2 separate regions of the Homo sapiens genome follow, and region 1 is linked to region 2. Evidence: promoter capture Hi-C in human tissues and cell types (Jung and others, 2019). All regions are on one chromosome and are shown on one strand. Each heading gives the region's core, a stretch centred on a gene start or on the middle of the fragment in contact. The rest is flanking DNA. Distances are from core to core; before and after follow the strand shown.

Region 1 (3,448 bases), core at 540-3,039, 180 kb before region 2:
CTCATGCTCTTTCTACAAGTTCGGTCTGCGTTCCAAAGGCAAAATTGCAGCCCTGCTGAAAGGTGGAGGGGTGAACAATGAGTCCCTCCTCTATTTATAGACAGAGAACAAAACCAGACAGCCCAAAAGGGCAGAAGTGCCAAGAAGGAAAATAGTTTTTCTGGGTCCTTTATGAGGACATTTTTACTCCCAAAATGGAGATGGTGCCGGAAAGTAAGATTGCCCATCACGAACTGCTGCAGCAGCCAGGACAATGCAGCCAAGAAAGGACAATGGGTTCAGCACCCAGGGGTCATTAGTGGCCCTCAAGAGGCTGCTTCAACAGAGGAGTGTGTCCAGACCTGATATTTAAAGCAGTTTACAGCAAGCAACTGGTTGAGAAATCGAGGCTTCTAAAGTAGACCTACTCATTCAAGAATAGCAGTAAATATAATGATATCTGCATGTTTTAAAATTACAGGGAAGCAATGAATCAAGAGGAAAGGTTAAAAAATCAGACTTTAATAAAAATGAGTGCTTATCTTATTTTGCAGATAGAAAAGTGCAAGAAAGACATGCTATTAGAGACAGAAATAAAAATCCAAATTAACTGGACCAGCTGAGACTCTGGACTGGGAAAACATGAGTCTGAACCACTACAGGGTTCTCGGGGAGTTGTATCTTTCCTGACACACTGTTTGTTCACCCTTTTCTTTGGGCAACAGATGCCATTCCTGACCACATGGGTTGTCCTGTAAATGGTCTGGCCACTTGTGATACTTCATGCCACTGGAAACAGTAGTCAGTTGACCTAATGTGACTCAAACTAAGCCAGCCAGTCTGTCTCTCTGAGATTGGTGTATGGGCATTGGAAGAGCAGTCTTCTCTCTCCATTAGATTGTGAAGCTGGGGTCACGCAAGAGAAAGGCTTAAGCAGCCCCCCACGCATGAGCAACACAGATTAGCAATGACCTGGGCAAAGGGGATTTCTCTCTCTCAGCACCCATACGTAAAATCCGAAGAAAGGATCTCTGGACATGTGAAGGAAGCCCATTCATAAGTAGGAAAAAATGAGGCCAGTCCAAAGAAAGATGGAGAGAGAGAGAAAAACAAACAACAACCTTCAAAACTCTGAATCTAGCCAAATCTGCTCCCCATCCTGGACTTTCTCCTTTATTGGGCCATAATCAAAGAGTCCAGTTGTTTTCATTTCTAGCTGCCACAGATAAGTGAGAACATGTGCTTTTTGTCTTTCTGTATCTGGCTTGTTTCACTTAACATAATGACCTACAGTTCCATCCCTGTCGTTGGAAATGATGGGATCTCATTCTTTTTTATGGGTGTATAGTACTCTTTTTTATATTTAAGGAAGTTTGAAGTGAGTTTCTCTAGCTGGCAGCCAAAATAGAGTTCACTAACATAACTCCCATTGAAGCCTCAATCAAACCTCAATAGGTTGCCCTGTGAATGGAAATTAAAATTTTGACCTGCTGGAGCCGCTGAGAATGAATATAATTTTTTTAAAAAGGCATGGAGCTCTGTCCTCAAGAAACTCATAGTCATGGGAAGTTTTTTGCTTTCCTGCTACAAATAGGAAATCCTTCAGAAAGGTTGATGATGTCAGTGTAGGTATGTGTGGTGGGAGAGGGAATGGCAGGGGAGGCACAATCCTCTTCCAAAAGATAAATAATAATGACCAAGCTAATTATCACACTTGACAGATACACACAGGAGCCAAAGGGTGGTGCGCAGAGCTTTGTATGTTTCTCATTGAGACACATCAGCCCACCTCGAGCCTCTCATTGGGCTTCCAGACATCTTTTCTCTCTTGCCTAGCTTTTCCTTCCTTTCTTGGGATTCCCTTGTCCAGTTGGCCCTTTGGGCTCCCCTGCCCTCCCTCCAGGGCTCCCAGAAAAGCAGCTCCATTCACTCCCATTGGGAGCTGAAGAGAGTTGAGTCAGATTCCTTCATGGAAGGGGGCTTTGGGCTCTTTGGTAAAACATCAAAAGCTCAGCAAATTTTGCTCTAACAATGCCATCTCTCCTCTCACAGCACCTCTTCCATTAACTACTGCATTTGGAAATGTTTGTCTCTTTTCTCTGTCTTACCAGAAGCATTTTCCCCAAAAGAAGGGTGGGAAGAAAAGACAATTAGAGAGGGACCAGTGCTCAGGAACAGTCTTAGAACTCTCCCACAGGGCAGGCCACTGGGTGGCACAAGCTGAAGGATTCTGGGCAGTCCCCCTTCCCTCCCTCCACAAAAGCAATATGCTGTCTTATGCTTGGAACATCACTTACAAACTGTAAAGCCATGCTATGCAGCTATTAGATATCATTTTTTAAAACCCTACTCCAAAAAACTCTTTCCATACATAGTAGACCTGCAATAAGGAGGGTTTTTAAATGGAGGGATTCCATTGGTTTATAGAATTATTTTCAAATTCAGAGACCCTTGCACTGTCTTCCCCATGCTGCTGGTGAAGAAGTGAATCATTACAACCTTCCTGGTAGGTTATTTGGCAGTGTGCCTCAAAAGCCTTAAAAATGTTCATTTTTTTTTGAACCCCACAATTTTAATTCCAGAGCATGAATGGGCTCCACCATTTACCAGCCATGTGATTTAGGCTCTCTGAACCTCAGTTTCCTCATCTCTAAAATGGGGATAATATCATAGGCTGGTTGTGAGGATTAAATGAAATATATGGAATGCCTTAGAATGATGTCCAGCATACGATTACATGCTATGTGTGAGCTAAGTAAGTGATCAGAGAGAGAAGTAGAAATACATCTCAGTATTATTTTAATTGACAACATTTAGAAACATGTCTAATAATGGATTGTTAGCTAAACTAATTATGTGGATCCATAAGATGGAACATTACATGCCCGTTTTAAAAATCATGTTTTCAAAGAATATTTGATGATATGGGAAGATGTTCATAATATATCACTGGGCAAAAAAATTCGCGTTTTGAATAACATACACAGTATAATCTGAATATCAATATAAAAGGTAAAGAGAATACTTCAAAGTATTATTGGCAGGTATCTCTAAGTAAAGAACCTTTTCTGCAATGGAATCACCTGGGGAACTTAATAAAACAATCCTGCTCTAGGATACCATCCCTAGAAATTCTGATCAAATTGGCCTGGGCTGTGACCTGGGCCTCAGGATTCGTATTTTCTTCCACATGCTTGGATACTTTCCCTAGATTTTTTCCCCAAAGTTTTCTAAAATAAATATGTATCACTTTTATAATTAGAAATTAAAACCATAAATGCTGTTTAAAAGACATTTCAATTACCCCCACGAGAGTGGCTGACTAAGCAATGATTTTAGTGACTGGCTTACCAGATAGTTTTCTCCCAGGGAAAGCTGGAGTTTGGCAGAGGAGGGAGAAGCAATTCAGAGTATGAGTCACTGCCCTGGGGAACAGACCTAGGAGGGGCACTAGATGGGGAAGGAGGTG
Region 2 (3,095 bases), core at 479-2,978:
AATTTCTGTTCAGTACACTTTAGTGATGGATCGGAGGAAATTAATACATGTTTACAAAAAGCCCCTCCCCCAGTTGTTACATATGCCTCAGAGATACCAGTTGTGAAAAGTGCAGGTGCACTTACACACATACGCACACACACCCCACAAATGGTATCATACGAAAAAACATACCTGCAATCTGCTTTGTCCACTTAATTGTATATCTTGGATACAGAACTTGTTTCACTGGAAGGCTAAAAGGCAAAGTCTGGGGAGGCCTAGAGGACACAGGGGATGGGAGGAGGCGCTCTGAGCTGGATGTAAGGTCTCCACCCACGGCCAGAGCACAAGGTCGGATAACCAGTGGGCCTGCCGGCTTGGCTGCCTGGGCCCTCCCCTGCCGAGACAAACGGCTGGAGGGAGGAAGTGTGCGGCTGGGAAGCTCCGCTGCTCTGGCCCGGGTTTCCCATTTCCCCCTTCCCGCGCTGAGACGGCGAGGAAAGTTAGCCCGGAAATCTGCGCCCGCCTAAAACCCGGCCTGGTCCCAGCCACCGCCCCAGGAACTTCCCCCACCGCAGGGGCGGAGGTCGAGAGCAGGGATGGAGAAGTGGACCTGCGCGGGTGGACTCCGGGGCGCGGGTGGACTCCGGGGCGCGGGGGGACTCCGAGGAGCGGGTGGACTGTGGGGCGCGGGTACCGTCTCGCAGCGACCTCTGTCGGCGGCTCTGGGGATGGCCCGCATCTGTCTGCGTGTACCTGGTATACGTGCAGGTACATGTTCCTGTTCACGTGCAGACTGGGCGGGGGATGGGGGGGTCCACACCGGTGTACACCTTTGCATACCTCTTAGCAACTTGAAATTCCACCACGAGAGATATCTTTATTCCGCTATTCCTGTGCATCTGCACGGAGCCCCTAGGGCCATAGATTTGTGTGCAAATGAAATGAGGATGTAGTCTGGGTGCCCAAGGGGGGGTGCCTTGAGTGTGGTTGTCTGTATGCCTCCCTGAGGGTATTTCACTTTCTGCTCCCATCCGCCCCTATGAGCGAGTACCTATGAGCACAGGATGTGCACATATTTGAGTCTTATTAGTGGTACACGCAGTTTTATCATCTCCCCAGGTCTGTGTCTGTATGAAATGTGCATGGGTGTGTGTGTGCACGCGTGTGTTCCCACTCGGGGAATGTGGGGAGAGGTGCATGGAGCCAAGATGGGTGGTAAATAGTATGTTTCTGAAATTAAAGGACTAATGTGGAGGAAGGCGCCCCAGATGTACTAAACCCTTTGCCCTTCATCTCATCCTCTCTGACTTGGGAAGAACCAGGATTTTGTTTTTAAGCCCTTGGGCATACAGTTGTTCCATCCCGACATGAACTCAGCCTCCCGTCTGACCGCCCCTTGGCCTTCCTTCTTCCTCGATCTGTGGAACCCAGGGAATCTGCCTAGTGCTGTCTCCAAGCACCTTGGCCATGATGTAAACCCAGAGAAATTAGCATCTCCATCTCCTTCCTTATTCCCCACCCAAAAGTCATTTCCTCTTAGTTCATTACCTGGGATTTTGATGTCTATGTTCCCTCCTCGTTATTGATACACACACAGAGAGAGACAAACAAAAAAGGAACTTCTTGAAATTCCCCCAGAAGGTTTTGAGAGTTGTTTTCAATGTTGCAACAAGTCAGTTTCTAGTTTAAGTTTCCATCAGAAAGGAGTAGAGTATATAAGTTCCAGTACCAGCAACAGCAGCAGAAGAAACAACATCTGTTTCAGGGCCATTGGACTCTCCGTCCTGCCCAGAGCAAGGTAAGCACTTCCCAAGCCCCTACCTCCCTCCCCTCCCTGTGGGCCTGCAGCTGTCCAGGTGTAGAAACCGTTAGTGTGCTACCCCAGCAGCTGGCAGGAGGGAGTTGGTGGATTCCTGGAAGCATCCCTGGTGAGTCATCTGCTGGAACATTAGTGAAAACTTAGTACTCTAGGGACCGATGTACAGTGTCCATTTTAAAAGCCACCTAATAATAACTGTATAGCAAGATCTGTGTGTATGCATAGTTTGTGGAAATGTTTGTTTTATCTTATTTTGAAGTGGTGTGTATTGATGTATAAAAGTATATTCCTAAATGTTAATGCCCATCAGTTAAAGGATTGTATAGAGCTAAAGTGAGTGGTGCCTGCCTTACTATTGAAATTTTTAAAAAGCCTTTCGTGCATTCCTTAAAGTAATTGGATTCATAATTATAATAATGTTACAAATCAGACTTGCTCCCATATTTGTGATGGTCTTGGTCGTCAGTTGTGATATCAACCAAAATGACAGCTGGGATCCCCATTCTTGTGGATTAACTAACTTTGGCCCCAGTTAAAAAATGAAAAGCTATTATTGCTTCCTAAAGAGTTTTTAAATCTGTGAGAAGGGGGAAAAAAAGGTTTTTTTACTTGCCCAGGTAAAATTGTGTGCAACAACAATGTCATTTTAACAAAGGGATTACTAAACCCCAGGTGATGACCCACTTTTTCAAACAAGGAATTGCAAGATACTAGATGGAATGTGGGTAACCTCTTAGAGTTTAGTTTACTGGAATCTGAAATTGTATGATTTCCGTACATTCCTTCATGCTACTAATAAGTCATGGAATCCCTCTGTGCTGGACTCTGGGGGTAAAGTGCAAAACAAGATAGACATGATCCATGGCATAAGAGAGTTCACTCAGTGTGGCAGAGAAGACAAACAGTAAAGAAGAGACTGTATTGTTGCCATTGTAGTAAATGCTGTGGAAGGAGGGGAGCAAATAGTGGGTCCTGACTTCATCTAGGCACCATGACACTTCACGTGAATTATGTCACTAACTCCTTACCACAGTAGCATGCCCATTTTATAGATCAGGAGTGTGGGGCTTAAAGGGGCCAAGTGACTCACCCAGAGTCACACAGTTCTAGAAGTCTGCCTGGCCCTCAAACTAGGGATCTTTGCATGTGCCACCCATGCCATCTGTGACTATATCTTTTTATTCTTTAATAATAACTCCCTTTTCTAATTAAAGGTAACAAACAAAACTTAAAAAAGAGATGCCCACCCAAGCGTCATTGGCATGCTGATGTTGGCACCAGTGTTGGGAAG

Evidence for each region. The method cuts DNA at HindIII sites, captures the fragments that hold promoters and counts their contacts. A contact is called where the count stands out against the background at its distance.
Region 1: a contact is called between a fragment that was not itself captured here and the fragment with the promoter of IL12B in region 2, in 1 of the 25 tissues and cell types used here (hippocampus).

The regions. Positions count from the first base shown.
Region 1 is chr5:159,505,139-159,508,586 of GRCh38, reverse strand. The region is part of intron 1 of LOC124901123 (a long non-coding RNA gene); the gene reads left to right. Among named protein-coding and RNA genes, the nearest start is that of LINC01845, 41 kb to the right of the region's middle. The HindIII fragment of the contact is 8,633 bases long and covers 1-3,448 here.
Region 2 is chr5:159,329,120-159,332,214 of GRCh38, reverse strand. IL12B (interleukin 12B) reads left to right here and starts at 1,728. Exons shown (of 8, transcript NM_002187.3): 1 at 1,728-1,783. IL12B-AS1 (IL12B antisense RNA 1) reads right to left here and starts at 697. Exons shown (of 5, transcript NR_037889.1): 1 at 175-697. The HindIII fragment of the contact is 3,117 bases long and covers 1-2,439 here.